Regions from separate parts of the Homo sapiens genome. Here regions 1, 2 and 3 are each linked to region 4. Evidence: promoter capture Hi-C in 16 types of primary human blood cells and fetal thymus (Javierre and others, 2016). All regions are on one chromosome and are shown on one strand. The core of a region is centred on a gene start or on the middle of the fragment in contact, and the rest is flanking DNA. Distances in the headings are between cores, read along the strand shown.

Region 1 (4,736 bases), core at 1,906-4,405, 320 kb after region 4:
GAAATGGAAAAGTGTGGATGATTTTTGGAGGGTAGTAACTGATTTTCAGGGGAATTCAATGGGCTTAGAGAACATATAATGGCCTGGGACAAAATCTATTGGGCCTGAAGAGCCTACGATGGTTTGTGACAAAATTCTGTCCAGGTTTGTTGACAGACTTCAGCTTTTCTTCCTGTGTATTAGTTCGGTTAATAAAAATTCAAAGAAGAAAACAGTGGTCATTGTTTCCTTTATTGCCAGGTCTAGACTTCAGGCAGACAAGGGATCTTCAGAGAACAACTTCACCTTGTGCTTTGAGAGAGACAGGATTGAGCGAAAGGAGGTAGGGGGAAGGTCAAATAAACCTTAAGGCTGCTTCTTCAGTTCAGCATATCGAAGTGCCATGTTTTGGTTTCTGAACCCCAACAGAGGAAGCAATTCCATCCTTCTTCCTATTCCTGTGGCATGTTCCTCCTCATAGGAGGAGGACTGGTTTGTGTTACTAGTGACATCAAGCAATACACTGAGGTTTGCTAAGCAGTGGTGAGGTCATGGCTTCAGATTGTGGGTGGCACAGTCCCATGTCTCTCCTGTCTTTTGTTAATTCGTGGACCTGTGTTGTCACTTGTCCTTTGTCTCCTGGTACTAACTAGACCAGACCAAAGATGGTCTCTGGCAAGCTCAGTTTAGTTTCTAAGCCCAATAATAGGTTACTAGATCAATTGGAACCTGCCCTGTGGGCCCAGAGAAAATTATTTCATAAGAAGAATTCGTTTCAGGCGAGGTCTTCATTTCAGGAGAGACCTCAGCCCAAAGTTGTGTGCCCCAACAGGAGTTAACAAAGCTCTTAGTTTGGAGATTATTTGATTTTGCCTGACCCGTATTGCTTCATCTGTACTTTGCTCTGTAAACAGAACAAAGGCACTCATCCTTTCTCAGGTGTTAGAATACTACAAAGGGAAGAAGGCAGTGGTGTGCTAGCAAATTGGCTGTCTGGGTGGAAAAAGACTGGATTTGTAACAGTTGCTGATTTTTCTAATGTAGGTACTTTCACCGTGGTCTATTTCCAACTCCCAATGGTTTGACAACTGCTTATGGATGAAGTTCCTCAGTTCTGACCATCAGCTCACTGAATGTGCTCCAGTAAAGTTGCAAAGCGAGTCATTAAGCTTCGTCCACCACAGTGAGAACAACTTTTCCTCAGTCCATTTCCCATCAACCCCTGGGGAAATTTCTGAGTTGCCCACCTTGTCTGTTAGGCTTCTTTCCCTAGTTTTATCAGGTATGACCAGGGGACCATGACTACATTGTAGACGCATGGTTGTTGGGAGTCTGCAATAATAGATCGGGGCAAATTTAGGGGTTAATGTGTGCTGGAATAACATCCCAGTCATAGGTTGGGTCTCTCCAAAGCAGAGCCTGAGACAAAGACTTATGTACCGGAAGTTTACTTAGAAATATGATTCTGGAAAGCAGAAGTGCAGAACCAAGAGGAAAGGAAAGACAAAATAAAGATGCATTATTAACTTCTACAAATCTGACCCTTCTGTCAATGTGAGTTACTAAAAGAGTAATCTCCTCAAATAATACATAGTAAGAAATGAGCTGGGAGTTGCCAGTCTTCACTGGAGCTTGAGAACAAATCCAATGCAGATGAAGGTAGACCTAAGATAGGTGCACAAACCAATCCCGGTGACGTCACTTGAATCTCTGGATTGAGATACGCTGTATGTACCATTCCCCCTTCTCCAATTTTGTCATGTGAACCAGTTCATTTCTTTGTTGTTTAAGCCAGTTTGAATCATGTTTTCTGTCATTTGCAACCAAAGAGTTCCAACTGCTATACTTCCACAATAAAAAGCTCACATTTTATTCTGTTTGTCAGTATCTTCTCCAATAGATTGCCACCTCCTTGAGTTAAGGGCCTATGCATCTTATTTAACTTGTATCCCCAGCATCTAACAGAGCACCTGGCATGTAGTAGATGCTCAATGCATGTTGGATTGAAGGAATATGTTACATTAATTTGACATCTGTAATACTGATCATTTCTAGTCTCATCAATGCTTTCTTAAAGAATGTAAGTGGGTTAAACTTTTCTTGTGCAGGGAAGAAAAGAAGATACAAATTTGCAAGAAAATGTGATAAAATGCATTTACTCAGGGGAAAAAAAAGAGACTGGTTATGTGAAAGAGTTAACATTGCAAACATAATGTATCTCCTTAGACCATTTTTTCCTTGTTGACTGTAATACAACTAAAATGTTAATAAAGGTATAGTTATAATTCACTCATTTACTGTACCTAATATATAATGAAATTTTTTCTCTGATTTTTTTTATTCCTAAGGGAAGAATCTCTATATAAAATGAAGATCTAGCAAGGAGAAAATGTCATGATGTTGATAATCTTATTTAGCCTAAAAGAGTTACCATGAATTATGAGCTTATTGATTAGAAACTCACAAAATAAAAGCTTATTTATAACCTACTTCATACTTTTATATTAAGACTACACTACTTCTTCCCCTTAATTGAAATCCTTTCAGAGTAAGAACTGGAAAGTTCAGAAAGTCGATAATTTAATCTAACTATCCATCATTCTATCTGCATTTTTTGCACATAGTTTGCTGAATGGAGCACTTAAAGCAAACTTAGCATAACATCTTTAAACTATACATAATCTTCCAAATTGAGTTGTGAAGCCATTATCTGGGATTCCTACCATATAACTTTACTATTGGTAAGAAACTCATGGAAGTTGCAAGTGCTATTCAAATATATTTCTCTAGAACCCAACATTTAGAAAAACAGTACGCAGATTTAAAAAGAATAATATTATCATTAATAATACAAATGTTAAAATCTTAATATTTGGGGGTCTACAGTAAGTTTTAAGCAAGCTACAAACTCTATTTCCCTTCAGAACCCCAAATCCTGTTATTCTCACTAAGCCAAAAACATTAGCAGCTAATAGATTTCAACCCCTAAGTAACCCCCTGCCTTAGACTAATGGCAAGATTTCCAAAAAAATTTTTTTGTAGTCAAAATTCCAGATTCTGAATCAATAGAAAAGAAAAAAAATTTCATCCTCCTTGCTTTTTAGTAGGATCCAGAAATCAGAAACAAACTAAGTGTGATAGAGCAGTTCATGCTTCTTTCTTACCAGATAAAGGACTGACATGTCAACATTGGCTTCCTCCAGGCTTGACAATGCCTGGGTTTCTCTGGGTGTATGTGTGGCTGTATCTGTGTGTGTGTACAGACTATTCTGAAGGCTGAGCAGATGATTTGCAGATGTATTCCAGACATGCACAAGGTTGGAATGCATCAGTCATGACTCTGCATTTCTATAATGTTTGTTTTTATTTGTAAATGTTCACTCTATATTTTCCTCTTCCATGAACCTCTCTGAAATAAAGTTTTTCTTGATTAATTTCCTTTAAAATCATTTGTGTTAATTAGGGAAATTATTAAAATCTGAAAAAGACCTAATGCTATGATTTTGTAATGTGAATTTGAGGTTAGAACATTTTAAATTAATGAATCTCTGGTAAAGATGAAATATTTGACCTCTTCTGTAATTAATAAAATTTCGTTGCAGGATTAGGTAGATATCTGGTCAGATAGAGAAAAGACGACTTTAAAATCTAACATCTTCTCTTGATTTATGAAGAACCCTTCCTTATTTGTTTTCTTCCTCCCTCCCTTCGACCCTTCCTTCCTTTCTGTCTCCTACCCTTCCTTTTCTGCCTCTCCACTTTCATCTCCCCCTCCCTCCTTACCCTCTTTGTCTGTGTCTTTTTTCTTTTTTTAAAAAGATGATCTCAGTTTGGAATAAACATTCTTGCGAAATTAGCCAGGAATTTTGCCAAGCTTAGTGTGTACACGTCAGCTGTTTTCTGGAAAATAATTGCACCATGTGACAATGTCTATTATTTTAATTGGTACTGAGGAATGCCTCCAAGATATTTCATCAGGTCAGTATTTCTTACACAGGCAATGGCTTTTTATTTCCTGATGTGCTGATTAAGCAGATAAATAACAGTTTGACATGCTGTATAGGTGAACAAAATAATTGCTATAATTAATAAGCCAGAACTCAAAGAAGTAGTAAACCATTCTTCCTGTATACAAAAGGCTTTAGGACCTGCAGCCTGAGGAAGTTGAAGTATTCAAATTACCCAAAGGAAATGTTAACCCAACTCTACAAGCATGGGAAGACCACTCTCTGGGAAGGCCCTGATGTGTCTGGGGAGCTCAAAGTGCTTTGTCATACAGTCTCTAAGCTTTAGCTAGTCATCTGGGGTCTGTTGCATTTCCAGAATACTTGCATATGTTTGCATACTAAATTCAAGAGGTATTAATTTCAAGAGCTGAAAAAAAGAGTCACTTTGTAAAACTGTATGGAGAATACATGTTCAGAAATTCGTGAATCTGAAAACAAAAATGTGTTTAATAGTGATAGAGGTGGTGGGGTGGGGAACAGAAGGATTATTTCCTCTTTCCACAGCTGTTCCCCAACATTACTGCAGGGTGAACTAAAGATTAGAATAAGAAGTGTTCCTCTGAAAAGGAAAATATTTAATAATTATTATGCTGTGTCACACTGTAACAATGGGATTTGGGGATATAACAAAATACACATTTGTATACTGTTTTTGTCTGTCTTCTGTGTGAGTAAAGGTGGTTAGTCAGTTTTATTGTGAGACTTTGTAGAGACTGGGAGGCCACACCCCTGTGGGTAGACATCATCTCT
Region 2 (5,048 bases), core at 574-3,073, 290 kb after region 4:
CTGAGTAACGGATAAACAATAGAAATTTATTGCTCACACTTCTGGAGGCTGAGGAGTGCAAGACTAAAGTGCCAATAGACTCAGTATCTGGAAAGGGTTCACTCTCTGATCTAGAGATGATGTCTTGTTGCTGTGTCCTCACATAGAAGAAAGTAAGGCAGTGCACTTCCATCTCTTTTGTAAGGGCACTAATCCCATTCATGAGGCCACAGCCATTGTGATTTAATCACTCCCCCAAAAGGCTGCACCTCATAATACTATCACATTAGATAATAGGTTTCAACGTGAATTTTGGGGGGATGTCAACATTTAGACTATGACATTCTGTTCCTGGCCCCCTATAATTCATGGCCCCCTCACATGGAGCATATATTTGTTCCATCCCAATAGCCCCCAGAATTTTAACTTGTTCCAGTACCAACTCAAAAGTCTAAAACTCGGTCTCATCTTAATATCAACTAAATCGGAGATGGCTGAGACTCAAGGTATGATTTATCCTGAGGCAAGTTACTCTCCAGCTGTGAAATCAAACATGTTATATACTTCCAAAATACAATGATGGGACAGGCATAGGATAGACATTTCCATTTCAAAAGGAAGGATTTTTTTTAAAAAGGGGATAGCAGGTTCCAACCAAATCCAAAACCCAATAGGGCAAACGTTAAACCTTAAGACTCCAGAATAATCTTCTTTGACTTGATATCTCATCTTCCAGACACACAGGGGTAGAGGCTGGGCCTCACAGGTCTGAACAGCCCTGCCCTCATGGCTTTGCCGGGTGCAGCCCATGCTGTAGTTGTCATTGTTTGGAGTTGCTTGCTGGTGGCTCTATTTTTGGGGGGTCTCAGAAGAGACTCTGCCTCTATGGCTCCTCTAGACATTGCTCTAGTGAGGACTCTCTGCAGTGGCTCTGAGGCTCTCTGGGTAATCCTTTGAAATCTAGGTGGAGGTAGCCATGTCCTCACAGCTCAAGCACTCTGGTGAGGTGGCACTGTGCAGATGCCACCAAGGTTTACTGCCTGTGCATCTGCACAGAGGAGAAACCTGAGCTGCTCTTGGGCCCATTTGAGCCACAGCTGAGGGGTTGAAGGAGTGCTGCACCAGAATGAGAGGGGCAGAAGTTTGAAATATTTCTGTTCTCAAGGCCCTGGTATTCTGGGCCTGTAATGGACAGGGCAGCTGCTGAAGATCTCGGAAATGTTTTCAGGCCCATTCTCCCATTGCCTTGATGAATAGAAGCAAGCAAGCTTCTGCCCATCCATACTAAATATCCTTTTCAAATAGTGACTTGGCCACACCCTTGCTGTTCGCCTTGAACACAATTTTTCATTCTTTACAACATGGCCAGGCTGAGAATTTTGCAAATCTTTAAGGTCTACTTCCTTGTTTGTTATAAATTCCATCTTTGGTTAGTTTTTCTCTTCTCATATTTTAGTATAAGCAGTCAACAGAAGCCAAGCCATGCTGCACTCTTCGCACTTCGCTTAGAGATTTCTTCCAAATATTTCATCGTTTCCAAGTTCTACCTTCCACAAAGCACTAGGAGATAAACACAATTCAGCCAAGTTGTTGCCACTTTATACAAGAATGGTTTTTTCTTCAGTTTCTAACAATGTGTTCCTTCCATCTGAGACCTCATCAGAATGGCCTTTAACATCCATATTTCTGTCAATATTCTGGTCACAACCACTTAGATAAAGTCTAAGAAGACTGAGGTTTCTTAACAGCTCTCCTTTTCTTCTGAGCCCTCACCAGAATATCAGAATATCGCTTTACTGTCCATTCCAGCAAAACAGGCTTTTTTTTTCAGCCTCTTCCTCCAAATCCTTCCAGACTCTGCTCATTACCCAGTTCCAAAGCCACTTCCACATTTTTAGGTATTTGTTAAAGCAGCACTCCACTTCTCAGTACCAATTTCTATCTTAGTTCATTTATGCTGCTATAAAAAAAATCTTAGGTTGGGTGGTTTAGGAACAGAAATTTAGTGCTCAACCTTTGAGGGTCTGGGAAGTTCAAGATTAAGGCATGAACAGATTCAGTGTCTGATGTTAGCTCCTTCCCTGCTTCAAAGATGATGCCTTCTTATTGTGTCCTCATGTGGTGGAAAGGGCAAGGCAGCTCTGTTATAGCACTGACCCCATTCATTAGGTTGAAATCCTTATGACTTAATCACTTCCTCAAAAGGCGCTACCTCTTAATACTACCACATTAGGCATTAGGTTCCAGCACATGGTTTTTCTGGGGGACATCAACATTTAGATCATAGCAACAGGATATATGGAGTTTTGGCGAGCATGTTAGGCAGAGGGTAGTGTGAATGATAGTGACTCATTACATACAGAGAAGTGCAGTCCTAAAAGAAACTAGATGTACTTAGCATAGATATTAGGAAAGCTTTGGACCATTAATTTTACATATTCTGTGGGATGAGAAGTTCAAAGAAGTTGAAGTTGACAGCCTAGGTCTGAGAAGACCCCAACTCAAGCCCTGTAAGACATGAAGATTTAATTAGAATATTTACATGCCAAGTTATCTCCAAGAAATGGCATAAAAAGAGAATTCTATTAACTCCAAAGAAAAGGCTGGGCTGGGCACAGTGACTCACACCTGTAATCCCAGTACTTTGGGAGGTCAAGGCAGGAGGATCACTTAAGACCAGGAGTCCAAGACCAGCTTGAGCAACAAATTGAGACCCTGTCTCTACAAAAATAAATAATAAATAAATAAATAAATAAATAAGCCAGGCATAGTGGCATGCACCTGTGTTCCCAGCTACTTGGGTGGCTGAGGTGGGAGGCTTGAGCCTGGGAGGTTAAGGCGGCAGTGAGCTAAGATTGTACCACTGCACTACAGCCTGGGCAACAGAGCAAGAACCTGTCTCAAAAAAGAAAAAAAAAAAAAAAAAGAAAAGAAAAGCCTAAGGGGTGAGGTAGGATCATGGACTTTGAATGTTGGTATTTACATGGAAAAAATTCTTTTTTCATGGAATTGGAGAGGGAAAAAAACTTCTGTGTATGCTTTTAAAAAGAAAATGACAAGAAAAGCTGATTTTTTTCTCCGATGATTCAGAGAGGGAGTACATATTTTTTAAATGATTTACTACTAGAACCAGGAAAATATTTTGGTAAACATCTTGGCAGTTATTAAAACAGTAAGATAATCTTTATGAAACTGGAACAGAAAGCCAAGAGGAGAGTAGAAATTAACCTAAAGACATAGTAGTGTGAAATGTACAGAAATGTGCTGGAGATAAAATCAGCTGCCAGAGAAGAGGAAATTGTCATGAAAATGAAAAATGCAATAGAATTAAAATCAACAATGTAGTTAGTAAAAGCAGACTTGTTATAACAAAAAAATTTAATCAGTGATGTGGTGGACTTACTTGAGAAGGTTTTGCAGAATGTAAGAGTAGACTAAAAAATATGTGTCAAGTTGACACGTAAAATCAACCATCGCATTAGATTTAAATAATTGTTGTAAGTTTGGTTGTAAAAATGAAATGCAAACATTGGAAATTGTTCTTAAAAGAAGACAGTGGAAAAACTACATATAGAATCAAATCACATTAATGTGGATCTGAATGTCCAGATAACATGAAGAAAGACTATGACTAAGTGAGAAAAATGTGAACTGGGAGAAAGCAAAAAGATAGTTACTTTTTAAAATCTTATGTGAAAGTTAGTAAAGAATGAAAAAGAATAATTTTTAAACACTAATATCAATAGAACTTAAAAGAGAGTTGATATCTTCCAAAGCTGCAGAAGATAAAATCAACCCAAAGAGCAAATGACAGAAAACAGAGGAAGTGGCATAGAAACCTGAAAAATAGAAAGAAAACAGCAAGAAAGAAAAAAGAAACAATACCCGCAGATAGCATAACAACACAAATGATATCAGTCCTGATAATAAATTTAAATGAGTTATACTACCCAGTTAAAACAGAGTTCTCCAAATATGGTTAAAAAACAACTGCTTAAAAAACCTTTGCTGCTTCCAAAAAGCACATCTAAAACAAACATAATTTTATTTATTTTATTTATTGATTGATTTATTATTTACTTATTTTAATAGGTTTTGGGGGAACAGGTGGTGTTTGGTTACATGAATAATTTCTTCAGTGGTGATTTCTGGGATTTTGGTGCACCCATCACCTGAGCAGTGTACACTTTATCAATGTGTAGTCTTTTATCCCTTGTCACCCCCCACCCTTTCCCCCAAGTCCCCAAAGTCCAATGTATCATTCTTATGCCTTTGCATCCAAAGAGTTTAGCTCCCACAGATGAGTGGGAACATGTGATATTTGGTTTTCTCTTTCTGAGTTACTTCACTTAGAATAATGGTCTCCAATTCCAGCCATGTTGCAGCAAATGCCATTATTTTGTTCCTTTTTCACGGCTGAGTAGTATTCCATGGTGTGTGTGTGTGTGTGTGTGTATATATATATATATACACGTATGTATATACATGTGTATATACATGTATACGCGTATGTATATACATGTGTGTATATACATGTATACGCGTATGTATATACATGTGTGTATATACATGTATACGCGTATGTATATACATGTGTGTATATACATGTATACGCGTATGTATATACATGTGTGTATATACATGTATACGCGTATGTATATACATGTGTGTATATACATGTATACGCGTATGTATATACATGTGTGTATATACATGTATACGCGTATGTATATACATGTGTGTATATACATGTATACGCGTATGTATATACATGTGTGTATATACATGTATACGCGTATGTATATACATGTGTGTATATACATGTATACGCGTATGTATATACATGTGTGTATATACATGTATACGCGTATGTATATACATGTGTGTATATACATGTATACGCGTATGTATATAATCAGTGATTATATACTACGTATATATGTATACATGTATATATATGTGTATACATGTATATATATATGTATATGTATCTCCTCACATCTTGAGGAAATACTGTAGTCAACATGGAATATACTTCAGTTACCTTTATTCTTCAGTCCACATCAATG
Region 3 (4,982 bases), core at 386-2,885, 270 kb before region 4:
TTAAAGGCCCAGCTCCATTTTCTGTGGAGCAACAGTGAAAGAGGAGCTGGAGATAATGGGCAATAAAGTGATAATTGGCACTGATAATCACTTTAGTAAACCTGGATTTTATTTTTGTGCGTGATTTGAGATAACCTTAAACAGTATTTTTTGTACAGATAAAATTGGAAACAATTTAAAGATCTGTCAATAAAGAAATGATTGAATAAACTATGGTACTTCTATACTGTAGATCACTATGCAGCAGTAATAGGGGCATATCTAGATATATGTACCAATATTGCAAGCTCTCTAAATCATATTGTTGAAGGAAAGTCGACATAAAATTTTAAACTACAAAACACTACTATATATTACAATATGTATACACACATGCACATACACACGATGTATTCAGAAGTAGGAGTCCTCATAAGATTACTTTATAAGAATCTTTTTATTAATATCCATGTGCAAACTAATATTTAGTATGCTAAAACACCTCATGTATCTTAACTGTGATAGAAAGATCTTCATGCAGTTTTTTTGCTCTGTTCTAGCTAACCTTTTAGTTATAGATGGCACAGAAATAAAGCTTATCTCAGGCCAAATAATTCAAACCTCAAATTAATAAAATTCTTTGCATTTGTAACTTCACATAATAAAAATCTGTGTGTGTTTTATTGTTATTTTAGGCAGAGGTTGAAAAGATAATTGCAGTTGCCTGGGACATTTTTCAGCCCCTTCTTTTTGGACTAATTGGAGCAGAGGTATCTATTGCATCTCTCAGACCAGAAACTGTAGGTAAGAATTTCAAAATGTGCTTTTGTTAAAATTCACTTTTTTTGGTCAGCCTACTCACCAATAAAGTCTACTTTTTATATTCATTGAAATATCTCCAGCAGGTATGTGTACAGTGGTTACTATTGTCACAATTATATAAAAAGTTAATTATGATGTAAGTTTTTTAGAGTAGTTGGTTAGAAAATAATGCTTGTTCATCTAAGATGGTATATTTTACACATTTAATATTGTTCCTTGTATATGAAAGTGACACTGCTGACCACTACCCAGAAAATTCAGGCCTTAACAATTCTTTTTCCAAGGGTAAGAATATTCATCTAGCCTTGTCCTGAACAAGAGCGAGAATTTTAAAGACAACTAGTTAGTTCTATAGTTTGTACCCATGGGATAGAAATGCCTTGTTGTTCATTAATTATTTTATTTATTCCTACATTCAAAAGCCATCATATTAAAACTCTGTTGATTCAAAACACTGCACTTAAAAATTAATTTGTATATATGTACTCATTATTTCCTTCTTTCCTTCCATCACAGTATTCTTCCATCCATACTAGGAATCCCATCTCCCGCTACTCCTTCTGAATCTTGCATATGGATTCTTTCCTTTTCTCATACATCTTAAATATCCATGTCGCAATTTTCTTCTCTTCAGAATTTAGTCTCCAATCTCTCTTATCTTAAAAAAAAATGCTTCTCTTCTGACACATGCTGCAACATGGATGAACCTTGAGAACATTATGCTAAGCGAAATAAGCCAGTCAGAAAAAGACTAACCCTGTATGATTCCACTTACATGAGGTATCCAGAGTAGTCAGACTCATAAATGGTACTTGCCAGGGGCTGGGAGTAAAGGGAAATTGTTGTTTAATGGGTATAGAGTTTAAATTCTGTGAGATGAAAAAATTCTGGAGATTGGTTGCATAATAGTGTGAATATACTTAATGATACTAACTATACACATAAAAATGGTTAAGATGGTAAATGTTATGTGTATTTTACTACAATTAAAATAATGTATATTAAAATAATATGTTAAAATTATATATATATAAAATTCCTCTATTTCACTTCCCCCCGTCTCTACCATGCTACCTCTCTTGTCTTCTTTTCGGACTTTTCAAAAGAGGTCACTACATTCCCCTTTCCACTTCAGTTCCCATTTCCTCCTTCTATACATTTTAGCCCAGCTTCTGCCTATCACACAACCTGCCAACCTCTCACACAACCTGCCAGCCTCTCACCAAGGTAATATTGCTAAATCCAGTCTTTGCTTTACTTGATCTGTCAGCAGCATTTGCTGCTTTTGACCCTCTAACACTCCTTTATATTAAGTTCTTAAACTTCCTATTTCCCAGTGCTGTTTGAGCCTTTCCTTACACCATATGTAGCTTAAATGCTGCCCTTTATCAAATTGCTTTCTAACTTTGTGCCTCTGGCTCTATATAACTTCTCTAACCTTATCTATACTAGTGACATCAACTATAAACTGTATAATTCCAAACTATTTATCTCTAAATCAATATATCCAATTGTTGATTGGACAGCACCACTTGTATGTCCTGTTAACGTTCAAACTCAACTAAAACTTCCTTCTCATCCTCTTCTCAAACTTTCAATGTTTCCTTCTGGGAATGATATCAACTCTTTATCTTGTACTTCAGGCTACAGATATTTTTGAATACTTTCCAACCTTGAAGAAATACCTTTCAACAAAGAACCACAAAACTTTCCCATAAAAAAGCCATATGGCAGATTTACAATAGATCCTCCCGCTATGTCTGTCTGATGTTTTACCCGCCCTTTGAATTTGAGAAAACTACTTATCCTTTCTGAGCTTCTGGTTTTTTCAACTATAAAATAATACTTACTCCACGGGTTGTAAGGACTAAGTAAAATAATACATTTAAAGCTTAGTACAGCATTTGGCACAGAGTAAACACTCAACAAATGTTACTTTTTAAAAAATCACCCTAATACTCAGGAGTCACCTTAGCTGTATCATTCTTAGGTCCAGTAGCATGTAGCAGCACTACTCACAATCCCTTGTTTGGCAAATGATGATGAACTTGTCTTTATCAGCAAAGAATTCTACAGGACTAAATGGAGTAGCTGTGTATGTTAACCAGGGATAATTGGGACCAGTACGACCAGTACACATCAGTATGGTGAAACAGTGGTAGACTGCCAGTGTCTATTCTGATTGGTCAGTGCCCAGCCAGCTCTGATTGGCTAATTCCCTCCATACTGGCTCATAAATATTTTAGCTATCACTTCTGGTCTTATACCCTGTAAAGAATTATTGACTTTTTGGGTTAAAATATTGTTTTTCCCTCTTTTATGCCCTTAGTTTGTTTATACCTCACTTACTGTATAGTCTATGAATTGGTTGTTTATGTGTCTTTCTCTGACTTTGAGGCAAAGTCTATACATTGTACATTTATGTGTACACAGTACTTAGTTTAAAGCTTATTACTTATCATTTAATCATATCATTTAATAAATTCTTCTTACACACATGAACAAGCATGGTTCTTGCTATAAAGCATAAGACATATATAACATTCAAATCTCTACATAAGAATTCAAATATGCTTAATTTCTGGTTTTAATCTACAGAAACACCTTATTTTAAACAAATAGCCTGATTGATCCTTAATATTGATTGTTTTTATATATTCTTCCTAAACATTTTTGTATTTGTAATTTTTAATGCTTTAAAAATTATTTCTGTTGATGGTTATTTTGAATTAGTAACCATGAGATGCAGTTTCTCTCCTAGTATTTTATTATTTCTAAAAATTGAATATTTCTTACAGGCCTTTGTGTTGCCACCGTAGGCATTGCAGTATTGATACGAATTTTGACTACATTTCTGATGGTGTGTTTTGCTGGTTTTAACTTAAAAGAAAAGATATTTATTTCTTTTGCATGGCTTCCAAAGGCCACAGTTCAGGTATGATGGATAGGATGGCTTAGCATTTTAACTGCTATTTCTGCATGACACCTTGAAATATTGAATAAGAGGGCTTGTTTAAATTTAGTGAAAATAAATAATTGAAGTGGATTTATGAAAAGAGTTTATCCTAATCTATTCTTTAAAACCTGTATTTTTGGTATATTCATTCCTTAAATGTGATAGCTCATTAAATTTCCTTAGATCACCAGGGTATAAGTAAAAATCCAGTAAATCCCTATTCTACTAGAAAGCAGTAGTAACAGGAGAGAAGAGTTTTCATCAGTCGGCACTCTGTAAGTCACCCAAGGAAAGAGTTCTTAACTCTTTTCATGTTAATAGCTTCCAAGAAGAGAGTAAAATAGAAATAACATGGTTCCCTTAATGTTTGGAGATATTTTAATGTTAATATGATTGATGATCAGTTGAGCTTGACCAGAGTCTTTGTATGTAATGGAGAAAAGATTTATTGAAAAACAACTCAGAAAGCACTTTATTGATTTCCTAGATTATTAGTTGGTATTAATTATTCAAAACTCACTGAACTTCCTGGCAAATGTCTCAATCACTTAACCGAAAATTTGTGCATTCTAATAAACGTGATAAATAAAGCTATTATAGATAGGTGCTTGAATTTGTTGACCATGCATTTGTTAGAATATCTATGATTGCTAATTAAGTTAGAACTGTATAGATTATGATTTGTTGCAAATGTGATGTATCTTTGGTTGTATATTTTCAGACTAATTACATCAAACAACATTTAACTGTTTTGCCCCAGATTATTTTATAATTAAATATTCCAATTTCTGTTATTAAGGAATTAAAATCAAGTGTTTTTCATTTAGGAGGCTTTGGGGGATGTGTATGCTCAGCAGTTATATTCCAGATTTCAATTATGCTCTTTGCATTTGGGCATTACTCCAGAATTCCCCTCACCCCTATCAGACTTTCAAAAATGTCTAAAACATAATGGCTAAGAGTTCTATAAAAAGGTCTCTGGACAGCAATGTGACCAGCCAAACTCCAGGAGTTCTATTATAGAAGGGAAAGGGGTCATTCATGTTTTTGTGAGCAACTAGTAGTTTCTGCCATTGTTTCTGATGCACATTTTTCTTTTTCATTGTCTTAGAGGCTTACATTGTTCTCTGTGGAATAAGGGATAACCAGATTAATTAATACATTTTTCCCATCTGCACTGATAATATTGCATTTTGCCTCTAAAAGAAACTGAGAATTTTCATAA
Region 4 (4,646 bases), core at 709-3,208:
TGCATCCTGGAATGAAAGGAGGAATGAGAATCTTCTATTATTGTTTTTCTAAAAATTATATTTCTTAATAAACAGAATATATCCATATGTATCATCAAGGATGAATTTTCCTCTGATTTGGCTTAATGAAATCTCTGGGAATTATGAAAAAATTCCTTTGCCGCTCTTGTTGCCATAAACCTTGTGTTATCAGTGTTGCACAGACCATGGCTAGCCATTTAATGCCGTGAATTATGGCATATAATTTGAATTGAGAGCTTTGTTTCTATCAAAGGTAAAAATGCTTCTGGAGTGAGTGAGGAAGGCTTTGAAGCAGTGAGAGCGTTTCCCCTATAGCATCATTGGGCTCTGACAGTAGGACCTTGAAGAGGAGGGTTCTAATCCTGTCTGCCACTATGTGACAGGCAAGTCACCTGATCTTTTTTTTTTTTTTTTTTTTAGAGTCTTTCTCTATAGCCCAGGCTGGAGTGCAGTAGTGCCATCTCGGCTTACTGCAACCTCTGCTTCCTGGGTTCAAGCGGTTCTCCTGCCTCAGTTTCCCGAGCACCTGCGACTACAGGCACGTGCCACCACGCGCCCAGCTAATTTTTGTATTTTTAATAGAGACAGGGTTTCACCATGTTGGCCAGGCTGGCCTCGAACTCCTGACCTCAAGTGATCCACCCGCCTCGGCCTCCCAGAAGTGCTGGGATTACAGACGTGAGCCACCGCGCCTGGCCCCGATCTCTTTGAACTCAGTTCCCTCATCTGTAAAGCCAGCGGCTTGGGTTGGATAATCCATACTGTCCTTTAAGCCAAGATATTCAGGGCTTGTAAATAATGCTGACTTTGCAAAGTAAGATATTGCCCGGTGTCTGCAGAATCAGGCAATTCCAAGGCCATTGTAAGGCGAAACAAAGCTCAGATTTGATGAGAGAAAATTTCTTTTCAAGGACTTCTTCCGAAGCATAAATATACGGCAGATAGCGTCAACACAGGAGAAAGGCAGTCTATTTTATGCAATGTAAAATTCCGTCTTAACTTCTAGGATTACTGTTACATCCTATTGCAAAAATGGGACTCAGGTAGACCATTTGACTACAAGACCCGAAATAAGTCAGTGGTATTTCTTGGGTACTCTGGCATTGTTAGGGACGATCACATATGTTTACTCATTTTATACTTATAACACCTTGAAAACTTCAAGAAACGGAGATGGAGATTTTGCGGCTTGCCCAGGTCCCACAGCTAGTGAGTGCAGAGGATTTTAAACTCAGCTGCGCGCCTAGTGCAGGTTCCAGAACCTCAGAAACCTCCGTGGGGCTTTATGAAACATAAGGACGCAGGCCGCTAGTAACAATAGCTAACGTGAATGCCTTCTCTGGGCCAGGCTCCATGCTGCATGCTATAGTCGCATTTTCTTGGTTAGCCCTCAGAACAACCTTCTGATGGAGATACTGCTAGTACTTGTTTACTCTTTGAAGGGCGGGGTAGGCTCTGAGACCCGCGAGTTGAGCTGCAGCGGGGTGAGTGTTACGCTACCAGGTAGACGAGGGTCTGTGTAAATTTGGCGGAAGGGAAGTGGTGGGTTGTCTCCCAGTTTGGGTTCTCTGAAGGAGTGAGGGGACTCTCCAGCTATGGTCTCCACGTACAGTCGGTCTCTGATCTCCCGAGGCTTTGTGCCACTGCGCGCCCAGGGATCTTTCTGTCCCAATTACCGTGCAAGATTCTTGCCTCCAGTTGTATGTACTGAGGCGGCGGGAAGAAGCGCCGAGGGAAGGCTCAGACCGCAATGCCCCCCAGCCTGTAGCTATTCTCGGGGGCTGCAGCTCCCGCACCCGCGACGCCCGGCTTTCAGCGGGTGCAGGCGCAGCCTCCTCGTTCCCCTCCCGCCCGCGGCTGCGCCCGGAGAGCGCTCAGCTGACCTAGGGGCGGGGCCGGGGCGGGGACCTAAAGCCTCGGCTACTTCCGAGGGGGTGAGTGGCTTCACCGCCGGTCCCTTGCAGCGCTGCCTTTCGATCTCTCCACATCTCGGTGGCGCGGGATCTCAAGATGCGCCTCCACCTGCTCCTGCTGCTCGCGCTGTGCGGTGCAGGCACCACCGCCGCGGAGCTCAGTTACAGCTTGCGTGGCAACTGGAGCATCTGCAATGGGAACGGCTCGCTGGAGCTGCCCGGGGCGGTCCCTGGCTGCGTGCACAGCGCCTTGTTCCAGCAGGGCCTGATCCAGGTATGGCGTGCGGCCGACCCGCGGCGAGCCTGCGCCCGCCTTCTTCTGGTGCTGAGAGGGGCCCAGGAACCGCCTGGCAGCCCCCAGCTCTGGGCCATTCTCGTCGGTTTGGTAGTAACTTCCCCTTTGCATCTTGTGATCTGCGGGGGGAAATGCCCAAGCTATGGGGTACGGGCTTGACGGAGACTGAGCGACCGACCCATGTTGGGACATCAGTAACTCTGGAAAGGGGAAGTTTAGATAGGGGAACAGTGTTGCTACTAGCAGTTTACTTACTGCAGTCGTTCTCTACTGAAGCGTGTATACAAAGGGCATGCCGTCACTGACAAGCATAAGGTCGGGAATTACTGTCTCTACTGTCTGCACGCCACAGGGGACAACAGCGTTTTGTTAAGTAAGGGTTAACTCTATTGAGTAATGTCTCGGTTTTTTATTTTCGCTGTTAAGCGTCAGGGAGTCAGATTTGGGATTGACGCAGCACAGACGTTGTGGAGAATGACCTACAAGAGTAAAGTTGGGTTTGTCAGTGCTAGTGTGGCTAACAACGGGTAAATAATTTTTAAGGCTAACTTGGTGATGAAGAAAGGTGCTATTTCCTCTCAGGGCGTGTGTGTGTGTGTGTGTGTGTATCCCAATGGAGTCTCCAATTTACAGACTACTTGTGGGGAACGTTTTCGTGTTTGGCTGCCTGTGCGCATAGGTTTGCAAACTGACTTCCATCCTCCAACTGCTTTTGCTGTTCCCTCTTGCACAGCGTTCCCACGTGTTGTCTTTACTTGGGGCAAAATGTACTTGTAATTGATCTACTTGTGGGATGCATACATTGTCCAATCCTCATAACAACTCTGTATAGTAAGTGTTCATATCTGAATTTTATGGATAATATGGAATTATGGAACACAGAGAAATTAGGAAGGTGACAGCAACTAAATGGAAAGAAATGGAATTCTAACCCAGGTGGTCTCAACTCCATAGCCTGGTCTCTATACTATGTGGTATGCTTAGTTTGGTGTTTTAAAAAATCATGTGTTTTTGAAGCACTGTGGCTGACTTTCAGGAGCACCATTCTAAGTTTATTTGCATGACAAGGTGGTCATCTAGGGTTGTGCCAAATTTCTGACCTGGTACTTAGTAGTTTTTTTTTTTTTTTTCCTGAGATGTGTATCAGAAAGGAGGTGAATGTTGTAAATGACATTGACCATTGTCCGATGTATTTTTAGAGTAGATCATTCCCAAACTTTAGTACTTTATTTTAAGTTGACAAACTACTTGTGATAGAGAACACAGCTGACCACAGTATACTCTGAGTTTTCACTTATATCTGCTTTGAGAATGCCTGTGTTTATTTTGTAGGGTTCCTCCTTGCCTGATTTTACTGAAATAATTAAGCCAATGGGTGCTGGTACGTGAGAGCTTTGGGAGGCCAAGGTAGGAGGATCCCTTGAGTCCAGGAGTTCAAGACCAGCATGGCCAACATAGAAAGAGTCTATGAGGCCGAGGTGGGAAAATTTCTTGAGGCCAAGAGTTCAAGACCAGCATGGCCAACATAGAGAGATTCTATCTCTAAAAAAAAAAAAAAAGAAAGAAAGAATTAAGCCAATGGGAAATAATGAGTGGCTTCAGTAAGTCAGATTATTGTGCCATATTACAGAGCTAAGAAGCTAAGAAACAACGTTTGGTTACAACAGATACTTAATGAAAATGAATTTGCTCATAGTATGAAATAACTTCCTCATAGGAACAATTTGAAGAGATTTCTTAACTCTCTTCATAAATTCTTAGCAAAACCTTGAGGTTTCAATCAGGTGGCCATGGGTCTCAAATGGCAGTGGAATGAGAAATGGGAAGGCTTTTGGGGCTTAGGAAACACAAGGCCTGTTGAAAATAATCATCAGGCTGGGCACAGTGGCTCATGCCTATAATCCCAGCACTTGGGAGGCAGAGGTAGGTGGAGTTTAGACCAGTCTGGGCAACTGGCGAGACCCTGTCTCTACAAAAAATTAAAAAATTAACTGGGCGTGGTGGCGTACACCTGTGGTCCTAGCTACGAGGGAGGCTGAGGTGGGAGGATCGTTTGAGCCCAGGAGGTTGAGGCTGCAGTGAGCCGTGATCTGTACTCCAACCTGGGCAACAGAGTGACACCCTCTCTCAAAAAAAAAAAAAAAAGAAAAAAAGTAAAGAAGCAATCATCAACATCAGATCAGTATCGTTATTCAGTAATGTGAGACTGTTGTCCGACCTGCTTTATTATAACATCCCTTTTTGGTGTTGACTTGAGGAAATATTCTACCGTTTATAGTAGACACTGGGCCAAATATTGTGTTTGTGTAAGAACTTGAAACATATCTTGGTGATATCATTCATTTATTTATCTATTCACCTAGTTAATTATCTCATATTTATTTTGTACCTCTAATGTGGCAGGCACTATTCTAAGT

The links. Contacts are between HindIII fragments. The CHiCAGO score rates a contact against its expected background, and 5 or more counts as called.
Region 1: a fragment that was not itself captured here is called in contact with the fragment with the promoter of MANBA in region 4 in 6 of 17 cell types (total CD4 T cells, fetal thymus, non-activated CD4 T cells and 3 more); the score reaches 9.4 in total CD4 T cells.
Region 2: a fragment that was not itself captured here is called in contact with the fragment with the promoter of MANBA in region 4 in 4 of 17 cell types (naive CD4 T cells, M2 macrophages, fetal thymus and 1 more); the score reaches 6.2 in naive CD4 T cells.
Region 3: a fragment that was not itself captured here is called in contact with the fragment with the promoter of MANBA in region 4 in 5 of 17 cell types (erythroblasts, total B cells, neutrophils and 2 more); the score reaches 8.2 in erythroblasts.

Annotation. Positions count from the first base shown.
Region 1 is chr4:102,438,553-102,443,288 of GRCh38, reverse strand. The region is part of intron 2 of NFKB1-AS1 (NFKB1 antisense RNA 1); the gene reads left to right. Among named protein-coding and RNA genes, the nearest start is that of NFKB1, 60 kb to the left of the region's middle. The HindIII fragment of the contact is 1,400 bases long and covers 2,456-3,855 here.
Region 2 is chr4:102,463,673-102,468,720 of GRCh38, reverse strand. All of the region lies in intron 1 of NFKB1-AS1 (NFKB1 antisense RNA 1), which reads left to right. Among named protein-coding and RNA genes, the nearest start is that of NFKB1, 35 kb to the left of the region's middle. RefSeq lists enhancers at 4,197-4,697, 4,698-5,048. The HindIII fragment of the contact is 1,147 bases long and covers 1,250-2,396 here.
Region 3 is chr4:103,027,501-103,032,482 of GRCh38, reverse strand. It overlaps SLC9B2 (solute carrier family 9 member B2), which reads left to right. Exons shown (of 12, transcript NM_178833.7): 10 at 675-783; 11 at 3,600-3,736. Among named protein-coding and RNA genes, the nearest start is that of SLC9B1, 10 kb to the right of the region's middle. The HindIII fragment of the contact is 2,118 bases long and covers 577-2,694 here.
Region 4 is chr4:102,758,280-102,762,925 of GRCh38, reverse strand. It overlaps MANBA (mannosidase beta), which reads left to right and starts at 1,958. Exons shown (of 17, transcript NM_005908.4): 1 at 1,958-2,208. The coding sequence starts at 2,032. RefSeq lists a silencer at 1,794-1,923 and an enhancer at 2,014-2,363. The HindIII fragment of the contact is 23,862 bases long and covers 1-4,646 here.